Linked DNA regions of Homo sapiens: all the other regions are linked to region 2. Evidence: promoter capture Hi-C in 16 types of primary human blood cells and fetal thymus (Javierre and others, 2016). All regions are on one chromosome and are shown on one strand. Each heading gives the region's core, a stretch centred on a gene start or on the middle of the fragment in contact. The rest is flanking DNA. Distances are from core to core; before and after follow the strand shown. Region 1 overlaps FAM91A1 (family with sequence similarity 91 member A1). Region 2 holds the start of WASHC5-AS1 (WASHC5 antisense RNA 1). Region 3 overlaps FAM91A1 (family with sequence similarity 91 member A1).

Region 1 (4,322 bases), core at 443-2,942, 1.2 Mb after region 2:
TTTTCTATCCATATTTTGCACTAGCCCCCATCCAAAAAAAAAAAAAACCTAACTTAGCTTGATCTACAGAGTACCACCTACAGAAAAGACCTTGGAAACCACCTCTCTCATTTTACTTTATTCAAGAAAGATTTGTTACTATAAATTAAGACAGGGTTTCACTATGTTATCCAAGTTGGTCTCCAACTTCTGGGCTCAAGCAATTCACCTCAGCCTTCCAAAGTGCTGGAATTACAGGCGTGAGCCACTGCACCCAGCCACCCTTCATTTTAAAGGTAAGGAAAACTGAAGCTCGTGGAATCACCCACTGTTCCTTCACTCTACTTCTACTGCCACTACCAACACAATAACGTTTTCTGAGATCTTCCTATGTGCTAAACACAGTGCTCAAGTCATTCTTTTCAAAAACTTTAAAAAGATGGGAACTTTATCTCCAGTTTATAGGTAAAGACACTAAAGTTCAAAAAGGTATTTAACTTGTCTAAGATTACTAGTAAATGATGGAACCAAGATCTGAGTTTAGGCAGTCTGACTTAAGTCCATGTCTAGCCCATTCTATGATGCTATCTCCCACGACCACCCCATACTATATATCTTCCCTGGCTAATTTCATCCTCTCATGGTTTCAACTACCATCTACCACCTGATGCTGACACTTAATCACTCTTGTCTAACCTCTCATTTGAATTTCAGAATATTTCCAATTACCACAGGCACCATATAAACACAACACATCATCTGCCCCATAAATGTGCTCTTCCTCCCGTGTTCCCCAGAGTAGTGGTATCACCACCTCCCATGATATCACTTCCTCCCGTGTTCCCTAGAGTAGTGATATCACCACCTCCTGTGATGTCACTTCCTCCTATGTTCCCTACAGTAGTGGTATCACCACCCTTCTACCTTCACAAGTCAAATACCCCAGAATCTTTCTTCCCTCTTCCCATCTCTCTCAGATATCTGATCAATTCTATTAATTGTATATTTGTAGTAGTTCTTAAATCCATTTTTCCTTTCAATTCTTATTACCATGTCCTTGATCCGGGCTATCTTTATCTCTTATCTAAACTACTACACACAGTCCTAACTGGTCTTCTTGCTTCAGGTGTCTCCCCACTCCCTCCCATTCTCAATATCATCCCAAGGTTGATTCCTGAAACAAATTTGACCATGTTAATCCCTGTTACCCCCCTGTAATTGCTACCATCAATCTACAGGTCAACTTCTCAGTTCCACGGCAGGACACTCAAGGCAGGCGGCACTGCAGGGCCAGCCTACTTCTCCAGACTTGTCTCTGACCACAACCCCCTCACACTCCAACTCACCCCTCAAAAACACTGAACAGCTTATTGACCCTGGCATGTTATGTCACTTCATATTCTTATTTATTTATTCCACAAACACTAACTGGACAACTACTATGACCCAAGCACCGTGCTGGGCACTAGAAAAATAGCAGCAAAGAAAAAAGAAAAAAAAAAAAATCCTTGCCCAGAGATTTAATCATGCTGACCCCTACTACCTCGCTTCTTTTAAGTCATCCTTTTGTATTCAGCCTGGGTCTCACTTTCTCTAAGGAACCTCCCCTAAGCCCTTCTCCTTGCCCCAAGGCTGGACTGGATAGTTCTTTTTAAGTCTTCCACTATATGTAATTCTATTCGATAAACTGAAACTGAGTGCTTATGCAGCTTTTCCCACCATCCTTAAATTCCTTGAAGATGAGGGGCCCTGTCTTATTTGCATATTGATATTAATTAGCGCAAAATATGCACATTCAATTGTTAGATGAACTGACGAAATCTTTACGGAGAACCTATTATGTGCCAGCAAGTGTGCTACACATTTGACACGTACATTTTCATTTCATTCTCTCAATTCTATGAGCATAAACTGCTTACCTTACCACTAGTTGCCATTATTATAAGTGTTTGTTATTATACAATAGATATTGCCATCTCCATTTTATAGGTGGGAAATAAAGTATAAGGTTTATCATGAAAATGTCACACAGCCCAATAAGCACATGCAAAGAAGCTCAACATTATTAGTCTTCGGGAAAATGTAAATCAAAACTATAATGAGATACCATTCCACACCTCCTAAGGTGGTTATCATCAAAAAGCCACATAATATCAAGTGCCCGTGAGAATGTAAAATGATGCAGCCACTTTGCAAGACAGTCTGGCAGTTCCTTAAATGCTTAAACATGGAATTACCATATGACCCAGTAATTCCATCCCTATACATATATAGCCAAGAGAAATAAAAACATATGTCCACAGAAAAACTTGTACACAAATGTTTATGACAGCATTCTTCATAATGGCCAAAAGGTGAAAACAACCCACATGTCCATCAACTGATGGAGGAATAAACAAAATGTGGCATATCCATAAAATGGAACATTATTTGGCCTCAAAAAGGAATGAAGTATTGATACTATGACAACATGATGAACCTTGAAAACATTATGTTAAATGAAGGAAGCCAGTCACAAAAGACCACATATTATATATGATTCCATTCACATAAATGCCCAGATTCGGCAAATCTATAGAGACAACAAGTAGATTAGTGTTGCTTAAGACTAGAGGGAAGGAGATGAGTAGCGGGGAGAAAATAGAAGAGTGATCACTAAAGGATACAAGGTTTCTTTTTAAGGTAATGAAATGTTCTAAAATTGAGTGTGGTGATGGCTGTACATATCTGTGAACACACTAAAACCCACTTAACTGCACAATTTAAATTGGTGAATTGTACAGTATGTGAATTATATACTCAATACAATAGTCCCCTTTTATGTGAGGTTTTGCTTTCCATGGTTTTAGTTATCATCTGTGGTCAACCAAGGTCTGAAAATAGGTGAGTATAGTATAACGAGGTATTTTGAGAGAGACCACATTCATATAACTTATATTACAGTATGCTATTTTCTTATTAGTAATTGTTGTTAATCTCTAGTAAGAGATGTCTAATTTATAAATGAAACTTTATCCCAGGTATTTATATATATATATATACATATAGGAAAACACGTACTATATATAGGGTTGGGTACTACTGGTGGTTTCAGGCAACCCCTGGGGGTCTTGGAACATATTCCCCACAGATGGGGAAACTACTGTAAAGCTATTATTTAAAAAAAAATAAAAAAAATCATGGTCACGCAGCAAGCAGGTGAGGCTGCAATGCAAACCTGGGTCTAACTTCAAAGTTCATGTTATTTCTACCACTCCCACACTGCCAAACGGCCAGGACTAAAATCCATATCTCTGATTTTTTACATTTCAACTTCATAAATTTCAAATGACTGACATTTTATTGCAACTCAATATAGAAAGCTAGAAAAATTATCAACTTTATAATAAAAAGACAAAATTTCAAATAAGATAAATGTACCTGAATTAAAACTGCAGAATGTGTTAAAGCATCATTCAACATCGTGAGCACATTTGAGGTAGGAACTACTCCAGGATCATGACCCCAAGATGTTATTAGCAATCGATCATAACTCTATTGAAAAGAAATTAACAGGTAAAATGGCATTCAGAAATAAGGAAAATATTAAGAAATTATCTAGCATACTGCTCACACACACATAAAAAAACCACCCAAACCTCCCACACATACCTGAAATATATCTGGCAGTTTTCGAAGTCTTGTACCTTTGGACAATAAAAGGGATGGTGGTCCTTGTCCAGTGACATGATAAATGTACAGTTTAAACCAGACAGAGCTGACTTCTGGGATAGCTGGTCCAATATGCTACAATCATAAAACAGTTAAGATAAAGTTAAAATAAAGTGTTACATAAGTGACCGAGAACAGTCTTATAAACAGCAAATCCCTTCACATAAATGTTAACTGCAACTATCCTCAAGAAAATAACTTTAAATGTTTCATTAAAATAGTTTCAATTTTATACTGGAATTAAGAAATTATGTCTTGTCACTGCAATTAAGAGAATGCACTCTGGAGAAGACTGCCTAGTTTGGAATCTTGGTTTTGCCCTTCCAGCCATATCACCTCAGGAAGGTTACTTAAGCTCTCTGTGCCTCATTTTGCTCAATCTATAAAATAGCAATAAAGAATCTACCTCAAGAGGATGTTGTAAGGTTGTTCAAAAAGCTTAAAACAGTACTTGGAATATAATAAGCTCGATATTAAAGTATTAGCTATTATTATCATTAATCACATACAATTTTCACAAGAGGAATCGCCCACCCTTCCATCCATTTTACCATTTATGCAGTAGTTCATGGATTCCTACCATGTCTGGAGGTTGTGTTAAAGAATAGGAGAGGTTCGGTGGTGTGCACAGA
Region 2 (4,853 bases), core at 495-2,994:
AATAATCTGGAACAACAATGGAAATGTTCTGTGCTATTCGATGATGACAGCAGCTCCTAGCCCTGTGTAGCTATTGAGCTCATGAAATGTGGGTTGTGGGACAGTGAAATGCAATTTTTAATTTTATTTCATATTAATTTAAATATAAATAGCCACACATCGCTAGGAGCTGCTGTACTCAATAGTGCAACTCTAGAAAAATCTTGGAGAAAGAGTGATAAGCCAGATATCTCCAAAGAGGCAAATGAGTAGGTAGAATAAGTTTCTCATCCATCCCAGGCTCCTTAGCCTCTTCAGCAGCTTATTAAAGCTTGAAGTGCGTGAGTACCAAAAATAGAAAATGTCACTAACAAAGATTCATTGTGCAGTAAACGAGAGCAAGTTATATTAAACTGACTTTATTTCTATTTCCAGTTCTAGATTGATATTTTCAAGAGGATCCTTGACACAGAGTATACTACACATAGAAAATTAAGCAAAGAATTATATGGGCCAGATACAGGGTTTCAGGGACATTTTTATGTGGCCTGAAAGAACCTACTATTTTCTTGGATTTGCTGCATTCTAATTTTTAAATAATGCTACTCTATAAATTCAAACACTTCCTATTTATAAATAGCATTTTTGGATTGACGTTTTTCACATAAATAGAGTAATAGTCTTGTATGAATAGTGGTCAAAAATAATACATCTGAGGTCATTTAATACTTTTGACCATTACAAGCTCCATTTAGCTAAGTAACTTTTGCTCATTCTTAGAGAAGGCCACCCTCCTTTTCTTTTTTTTTTGAGACAGTCTCACTCTGTCGCCTGGGCTGGAGTGCAGTGGCACAATCTTGGCTCACTGCAACCTCTACCTCCTGGGTTCAAGTGTTTCTCATACCTCAGCCTTCCAAGTATCTGGGATTACAGGTGTCCACCACCATACCCAGCTAATTTTTTTATTTTTAGTAGAAACAGAGTTTTACCATTTTGGCCAGGCTTGGTCTCGAACTCCTAGCCTCAAGCGATCAGCCTGCCTCGGCCTCCCAAAGTGCTGGGATTGCAGGCGTGAGCCCCTGTCTTTTCCTTAACTCTTCTCTGCCCCCAGCAACTCAGAGGAAATGCATTTATTTCCACCTTATTGCTGCTTGCATTATAATACTGTCTTCCCTCCTCTCCCCACCTCCCTCACTCCCCTTTGCCAGTCTTTTAGGAATACTTTGTCCGAGTAGAAAAGAAGACATTTATAGGCAGAAAAAGTTAGAGTGTGCTGTTGACCTTATGATGCAGACAACATTATGAGGGCAAACTGAACTCTCAAGCCTGACCCAAAGATCGCTTCCTATCATCCAACCATTGCAGATAATCTCCAAGTATCATTTATGCTCATAGCTACTTTTAAAGTACTGTAGTTAATACACCATCCTAGCATAACTCTATATCACAGATTTGTTCTTTGAATGGTTAATTATATTTCATTACAACTGGCTTCCACTGTTACCCTCTATGTTTTATTTTGTACATTCAAAAACGTTATTCTGAAATGGTGTCCATAGGCTTCACCAGATTCCCAAAGGGGTCCAAGGCTATATTAGTCAATTCTCACATAATAAAGACATACTCAAGACTGGGTAATTTATAAAGGAAAGAGGTTCGATTGACTCACAGTTCAGCATGGCTGTGGAGGCCTCAGGAAACTTACAACCATGGTGGAAGTGGAAGCAAACATGTCCTTCTTCACATGGCAACAGGAAAGAGAAATATAATCAAAAGGAGAAAAGCCTCTTATAAAACCATCAGATCTCGTGAGAACTCATCCACTATTACGAGAACAGTATGGAGGTAACCACCCCCATAATTCAATTACCTCCCACTGGGTCCCTCCCATGACACATGGGGATTATGGGAACTACAATTCAAGATGAAATTTGGGTGGGGGCACAGCCAAACCATATCAGACACACAAAAAAAATTAAGAACCCTGGATTAAGGGGCTATCATTGTTAAAATTTTCGTGAAAGATTTTATGTAGATTATTTTGTAATCCAGATAATTATAGAACCTATAATCCTGAGTGGCATGGACAGACTTAATATTCACCCAATTTGAGAATACTAGTGTGAAATGGCATTCCTAGAGCTTGAGAAAGTTCCATTTAGGATAAATAAAAGGAAGTAAGTAAGACTTCTCACAGCAGCTACTAAATTTGGAGCACTTATTCCAAAAGGTTAAAAATATAGCTTCAAAAAAGACATCTTTGATACATGAACAACTGAACATTAATAGATCACTTTGTGAATCATAGACTTTGGGGTATTTTTAGGTTGGGGTATGGGAATCCATCCAGACATTCCTTGAAGGGCCTCTGGTGCTTCATTAGATCCAGTGCTGGTCTTAGCCAAGAGATCAGTTCAGGAAATCCTTATTTTTTTTCCTGTAGAGTGATGTGAAGGCCCAGTGAAGAATTGTCATCTTTGTGTTTACCTCCTCACTGTCACTCTGAAATGCTTGAATGCACTACCTGTTCTTTCTCTTGCTTGTGCACAGGTTGGGCAGATGCAGATTCTGAGACAACAGATTGCCAATGAATTAAATTATTCTTGTCGGTTTGATTCTAAACATCTGGCAGCTGCTCTGGAGAATCTCAATAAGTAAGTGCCAGGGTTTGAAACAGCCATCCGTGGGCTTGGATTGTTTATTATCTACGCACCCCAGTTTCTTCAGTTCTTACTCTTTTAAGTTATTTTTGGGTGGAAGGTCTGAATTTACAGGCTTCCTTGCCACGGATAATCAAATCTGTCTTCGGAGCCTCTTTCCTCAGTATTGTCCCTCCGTTTATCTCTGTCTCTCACTCACTCTCTCTAATGGATTCGTGTATTCAGCAGACAGGTACTGATCACATGATTCAATACATGTCTGCTGAACAAATGAATTCATTAGAGAGAGCGAGTGAGAGACACACCAGACACTGCTAGATACTTGCACAGATTTTAGAAAGCAATTATTACCAAAATCCGCAACTGGCTTTTTACAGGGCTGATCACTCATCATCCAGAGGGCAGTTGGAAGTGTGTTGATTACCAAGAGTGGTTATGGAGGCCTGTCCTAGAGGGAACTCATATCCTCCGCCTCACCAGCAACCTGCTGTCATTTGAGGCTGCCTACTTACAGATAAATAATCTGTGCTTCTCACTCACCAAGTCAGTGCTTTTGACAAAGCAGGTATTAAGAACAGTTCAGTCAATACATGAAAATTTGAATGGTGAATGCATTTGATTGAGGTTGATTCCAAAAGATGAAGTAATTCTAGGTCAAATTTTCCACTTAAAACCAATCACAGGCATGGTTGAGAATTAGCGAGATCAAGCTCTCATTTTACAGATGAGGAAACTGAGGCTTGAAAAGATTACATCACTGCCCTATATTAACTCTTGTATAAATTCATTTACTCACTAATGTTTATCTCCAGGGTTTTTCTTCCTTTAGGGCTCTCCTAGCAGACATTGAAGCCCACTATCAGGACCCTTCACTTCCTTACCCCAAAGAAGATAACACACTTTTATATGAAATCACAGCCTATCTGGAGGCAGCTGGCATTCACAACCCACTGAATAAGGTGAGTAATTAAAATATATAATGGCGGGGATGGGGGTACAGAATGGTATTTGGCCCAGGTAACAGATTACTGTGCAGAAATACCAGAGGAACCTGGGTTCAGACCCCAGAGCCTTCATTCCATTCAGTTCCCTGCCCTTTCTAAGCAATCATCACACTTTCCCCGCCTGGCTCAGGTCTGTGAGAATCAAGTGCTATAGCGCTGGTGAAAGCTCATGACAAAGGGGAAGGTGCTGCCTCCGTGTAAGAGATTAGTTTTGGGTTTCACTGGGGTTTGCCGTTCAGTCATCAAGGCCCAACAAACCCAAAATGGTAGCATTGATCTGTCTTGCCAAAGGTGCTTCCCCTTGTGGCTGACAGTAATCCCACTCATCATAGAAGCTACAAACTCTTCCCTGCAGTTGTGAGCTCAGAAAACCTCTAAGAACTGAAAGTTTTTTCATAACTCGGTGCCAGATCTCTTTGCATGGCAAAATCTGTCCTGAGCTGACATAAGGCTGTTTATACTAGTTATTTATCCTCCTTACTGTAAACATTCATATATTTTGATGCAGACTTTGATTATAGTAACTTTGATTATAGTGCATTACGCCAGCCCCTATATTATCTTTCTAAATCTGTAAAATTTGAAATTCTGAAAGCTGTATTATCCCTTGTGTTTTGGATAAAAGATTATAAACCTGAATAGTAGCTAATGTCTTGAATATTTACTGCATAACAAGTGCACTGTCTTAACCCTGATTGTGGATTATCTCACTTCATCTCACAACAAGCCCTATGAAATACGCCATTATGAGTTGAGGAACCCGAGGCTCAGAGAGGCCAGCTAGCAAGTGGAGGAGCCAGGCAGTCTGACCAGAGCCCCTGCTTCTGACCCGTGTGCTACCCTGTCTCCTATGGAATCGGCCAGCTGGCAGTCTGGACCTGGCCATGTACGCCCTGACTGTAGTTTCTGCCGTGACATCTGGGAGACTGCTCTGTGACATTGCCTAGGGGACAGCAAATGACAAGAAGAACTTTGCTCTCTTTCTACTTAGATACCACCACTCGCTGCTACATGGATCTTTTCCCTTCACTCTCCCTCCTCCTCTCCTTCTTCCCTCTTTCCCTCTCTCTCTCTTCTCTCTCCCACACTCCCCCTATATTCACCTCCAGCTCTTCCTCAACTGCTCTTCATTTTGCCTTCCCCTCCCATTCTTGCTCATCACTCATTCCTCCCTCCCTTTATTAATGACATTAACAGGATTCAGGGGAAA
Region 3 (4,840 bases), core at 347-2,846, 1.3 Mb after region 2:
ACTCTAATAGCTCATACTGAATAAATTTAAGTTACTTTAATCTGTTTACGGATGGAACATTCTTCCATGATGAATGAAGTTGATCCAAATTAATTACTTGTCCCTTCTTATGGGCAAAGCCCAATCGGCAATACATTGAAACAGCATTCTGAAAGGAATATAAAGGAAACTAATTACCATTTAAAATAAACTAGACATCACAATATTTGTAGAGAAAAAATAGTGTAATAGACTAATAGTGATTCTCAAACATTTTCATCCCGTAACCAGAAACTATTTTCAGTAGACCTGCTCCTCCCTTGAAGTCTTCATAAATGTATAGGAGGGAATGTTTCCAACTCTCTGGCCTTGCCCTCCCTACATCTACCCCTAATGAAGCAGGAGTTGTTGCTTTAACGGACCTCACTACAAGATACTGCTTGGGCTGCTTCTTGCATGAGTGCTCTCTTTTCAGTCCATGTGTTTGAATCCCAATTTAGGGCCCCTTTTCCTGCTCTTTCCTGTCTTTGCAAGTGCCCCTTTACTGTGCACGTTCTCTCAGACAGCTAACAACAATCTCAATGTCTTCGTTTCTCAGTAGCTTATCAAGATAAAAATCTACTAGTAAAATCCACTCAGTTATCACATCACCAGTAAATGAGTATAAAAATAACATACCTTAACCAGGGATAAGTCAATCTCAAGGACATTTGCAAGCTAGAAGATAAAATTAAAATTTATTTTTACATTCTTAGAATTAACAGCACATTACACAGTTGTAATAGACCAATATAATCATAATCAGCAAAATTTTAAGTTATGAATAATTAGAAGACTGAATAAATTTTGAATTCAGAACTTTCTTCTTTCCCTATCTCTAAGATCCTTATAGTACAAATCCATGGAGTGACCATAACAATTTAAGATTCCTTACTCTTTAATTTCGTCTCATTTAAAATAAAATTCCTGGATAGATCAATATAGTCTACAATACTTTAGTACAAAAAGTCATATAAAAAGTTAACCAAACTATAAATTATTAACTTAAATTTTAATATACATTTATAAGAACGTTAAGAATAATGACATTTAAGTGTAATAATGGTATGATCTCCCCACATGGAGATTTTAAAAAGATACTACCATATTAAATAACTTTACTTACTTTACACAAACTTACAATCTTGAGATTATATTTTCATGAGACGTTGTCAAACTTACCTCTGCAACATTTGTGTGCTCATCTATTGAAACAAATATCTTATAGAGTAGAGTTTCAAAATAATCACCTTGCACTCGATTCATTACAAAACCTTCAAGAGGTGGAACTAAAACAAACAGAAGAGATTTTTCTCAGTGGTACAGATTTTATAAAACAAGAAAGTATAATTTACATATCTAATTAAAAAAAGAAACCTCTAACTTAGGGACTGAATGCAGCTTTTGATTTATTTATCCACTCCATAGCAAGTTTTCTGAAACTCTACAATACGTACACAGAGAAGACTCTGAAGGTAGACACGAAATCCACAGAGTTCATTTAATTCACCATGGAACTCAGAGTTACTGAGACAGGTAACTCAGAAATGCTGGATGACATGGACTTGGTAGAAGGGTGAGGGAACAGGGGCTGCTTCAGAATGGGGGAGCCTGCAAAGGGTTTCTGATACATGTGTTTTTGATGCCTCATAGGCAGCAGGGGTGAGTGGGCCAAAGCTGAAAAGCAAATGACTGCAAGAAAGAGTTGCTACGCTATACGAAAACCAGGTGGATGCAAAGTATTGGCTCTGTCTCCCCATCATCCCTACTCCATCCTAAAAATGGAAATTCATCTGCATGACCATCATGTTTACCAGAAGTCACTGGGCTAACTCGTTCTTTGGGGCTTTCTTTTCTGGTATCCTCCCCAGTGGGCCTCAGTGGCAACAGGGTCAAGATCCCCTTTAGCACAGTGGGCAGCCCAACCATCACTCTCCACCTGAATGTTCATTCATACTCACTTCTATCTCTTTGGTCCAAATGTTCTAATCTGATTTACCAAAGTGCTCTGCCCAGCCAATAAAAAACAAGCTCTATGCTTTCCTTTGCCATTCTCCCCTGTGGGTACATTCACCCTGAAAATATCCTGAGAAGGAGGAATGCCTAGGCCATAGTAGCATTTGGGTATCTTTATGTCCCCTGGCCCTAATATCATCTAATTGTACCCAAAAATTTAAATTATTCCTAATAGTGAAAAATAAGACAAAATTCAAATGGTCAAAACTGAGACACTGAAAAACTACAATGTACATACATCTGAGGATAGGTTATTCACTTTACAGATCTGGCTCATGTCATTTTCTAATTTAGTACTACCTATATTTCTAGTCATCTAGGTACTTTTAATGATCAATGGTTTCTTTTTAGAAATATTTTAGAAATCCCGTCTTTGACAACATTAATTATTTCCCTACACTATCAGCTATGTAAATAATAATAGCATTTATTGAATGCTTACTAAGTGCTAGGCTATTACCAAGTACTTTATATATACATTTTCATTTAATCCTCCTAACTCCGTGGGTTGTACAGTAGTATAATTACCCCTATTTTTAAATGTATCTATTTATTTATTTATTTATTGAGACAGGGTCTCACTCTGTCACCTAGGCTGGAATGCAGGGTGGGGATTGTGGCTTACTGCAGCTTCGACCTCCCAGGCTCAAGCAATCCTCTTGCCCCAGTCCCCCAAGTAGCTGGGACTACAGCCACATGCCAACACGCATGACTAATTCTTTTCATTTTTATTTTTGTAGAGAAGGGGTCCCTTTATATTGCCCAGGCTGGTCTCGAACTCCAGGGCTCAAGCAATTCTCATACCTTGGCTTCCCAAAGTACTGGGATTACAGGTGTGAGCCACTGTGCTTGGCCAGTTACCCCCTATTTTGAGAGATAAAGAAACCAAGGCACTATGAGATTAGAAATTTTCCTAGGCCAAAATTTGTATCTAAGCAAAAAGAGTAAGGTGACTCTACATGAAGAAATTTGAAACAGTGCTAGCATTTGTCCAAATGCTATTGGTTATCCAAAGAGAAGAAAAATAAGTTGAACCCTTATTCCACATCAAATATGAAAATAAGTTCCAAACAAACTGCAAATTTAAATATATACGACAAAAGTTCTCAAGAATTTTCAGACTATTTCTATATCCTACAGGTATTCCATTCAAGCATAACAGAAATCAGGAAGCTATAAAAGACACACAAAATACAGTTAGAAAATTTGATGAATAATGGAATAAATTTATTTAATAATAGAGCCTTTCATGATTACTCCCTTAAAAGTATTTCTGATCTCCATTTATATTTATATCACCAACCATAGTGCTTGTTTGTTTTGTTGTTGAAACGTATCTGAAATGCCTCTTTTGAAATCACATTCAGGTATTATTTGTACTGAATTTGATGCCTTCCATGTTGTCAAAACTGTTTTTATGTGTTTATTCTAATTTGGGGAACAGCCAAAGAGGTAACATGGTGACAAGGGTAAGTTTAGCAATTATCATCCCATGGGTCTGTCTGTACCACCAAATACCAGCAGCTACTAAGTGAAGTATGGTAGAACACATCAATGTAATGGGGCAGCCATCCATCTGGCCCTTCTCTGACTGCTTTTTTCAAATGAATTTAGTTTAGCCATAAGTAATATTAAAAGTTACTCTAATGTGAGTCAATGTTCAAACTGACAGTCAAACTGGACTGAAATGAACTAGTCAAAGACTAATCTTTTTATTAATAGGTGGATCTCAAATGAATCAACGTCAGCTTATCTGATGACAGTAGGCACTAGAGTAATACTTTCATATTTTCCAACTGTGACAGGAAATCACGGCCACCTCTGTCTTCAGAAATCATTTCCTTGTCAAATCTTTCTCATTTTAAAACTAGTATTTTGTTACGGCATCAACTATACAAACGCAAATTAGTATTTCCTGTACTTTTTAAGGTATCTTTCCAAGCTTAAAATAGGATGCAGGCCGGGCATGGTGGCTCACGCCTGTAATCCCAGCACTTTGGGAGGCCGAGGCGGGCAGATTGCTTGAGGTCAGGAGTTCAAGACTGGCCTGGCCAAAATGGTGAAACCCTGTCTCTATGGGTTTTACCTGTAGAGTAAATTAGCCAGACGTGATGGTGGGTGCCTATAATCCCAGCTATTCGGGAGACTGAGGCAGGAGAATCGCTTGAACCCAGGAGGCAGAGGTTGCAGTGAGCCAAAATCATGCCACTGCACTCCAGCCTGGGCGATAGAGCTAGAATCCGTCTCAAAAAAAAAAAAAAAAAAAAATTCACATATGCACAAGGTTTAAAATGTGTTATTAAAGAATCACAAACATATGCCAACCCAAAGGTCTGGACACGCTACAGCATGATATCTTGTCAAGATTCAACACTGATATAAAGAAGTATTTCTGTAATAAGCCCTATCACCACTAATTTGTTAATATTAGGGTCATTCTCTGAAATTTTTTGACACTTTATATTTGATTACACAAATATTCAATATCTAAGTATAATAAAACACAAGAACAATAGTTAAAAGATATGCCACAAGACATACTTGTAACATATAACCTGAACATAGTAAGTGCTTCTATAAATTGGTAAGAAATCTAACCTATAGAAAAAAAAGCATCACTCTGTATTCAAGGATATTGAACATATCAGTATTGTAGTGGCAAAAAAACTGGAAATAATCTAAATTACCAGAAATACAAAATGGTTTAATAAATTGATACATCCATAAAGTGTATGACAAATATACAAGGCTCCTAATATTGGTTTAACTTGGAGAAGTAGGTAAAGGAAGAAGGGAAAAGGAAATA

Evidence for each region. Contacts are between HindIII fragments. The CHiCAGO score rates a contact against its expected background, and 5 or more counts as called.
Region 1: a fragment that was not itself captured here is called in contact with the fragment with the promoter of WASHC5-AS1 in region 2 in 2 of 17 cell types (M2 macrophages and monocytes); the score reaches 8.4 in M2 macrophages.
Region 3: a fragment that was not itself captured here is called in contact with the fragment with the promoter of WASHC5-AS1 in region 2 in 3 of 17 cell types (M2 macrophages, neutrophils and monocytes); the score reaches 8.5 in M2 macrophages.

What each region holds. Positions count from the first base shown.
Region 1 is chr8:123,798,963-123,803,284 of GRCh38, reverse strand. FAM91A1 (family with sequence similarity 91 member A1) reads right to left here. Exons shown (of 24, transcript NM_144963.4): 17 at 3,631-3,765; 18 at 3,400-3,513. Among named protein-coding and RNA genes, the nearest start is that of FAM91A1, 33 kb to the right of the region's middle. The HindIII fragment of the contact is 4,877 bases long and covers 1-4,130 here.
Region 2 is chr8:125,037,575-125,042,427 of GRCh38, reverse strand. It overlaps WASHC5-AS1 (WASHC5 antisense RNA 1), which reads right to left and starts at 1,744. Exons shown (of 2, transcript NR_170219.1): 1 at 1,649-1,744. WASHC5 (WASH complex subunit 5) reads left to right here. Exons shown (of 29, transcript NM_014846.4): 24 at 2,530-2,633; 25 at 3,469-3,598. The HindIII fragment of the contact is 6,314 bases long and covers 313-4,853 here.
Region 3 is chr8:123,780,937-123,785,776 of GRCh38, reverse strand. FAM91A1 (family with sequence similarity 91 member A1) reads right to left here. Exons shown (of 24, transcript NM_144963.4): 9 at 1,201-1,307; 10 at 658-696; 11 at 36-148. Among named protein-coding and RNA genes, the nearest start is that of FAM91A1, 15 kb to the right of the region's middle. The HindIII fragment of the contact is 4,765 bases long and covers 1-3,978 here.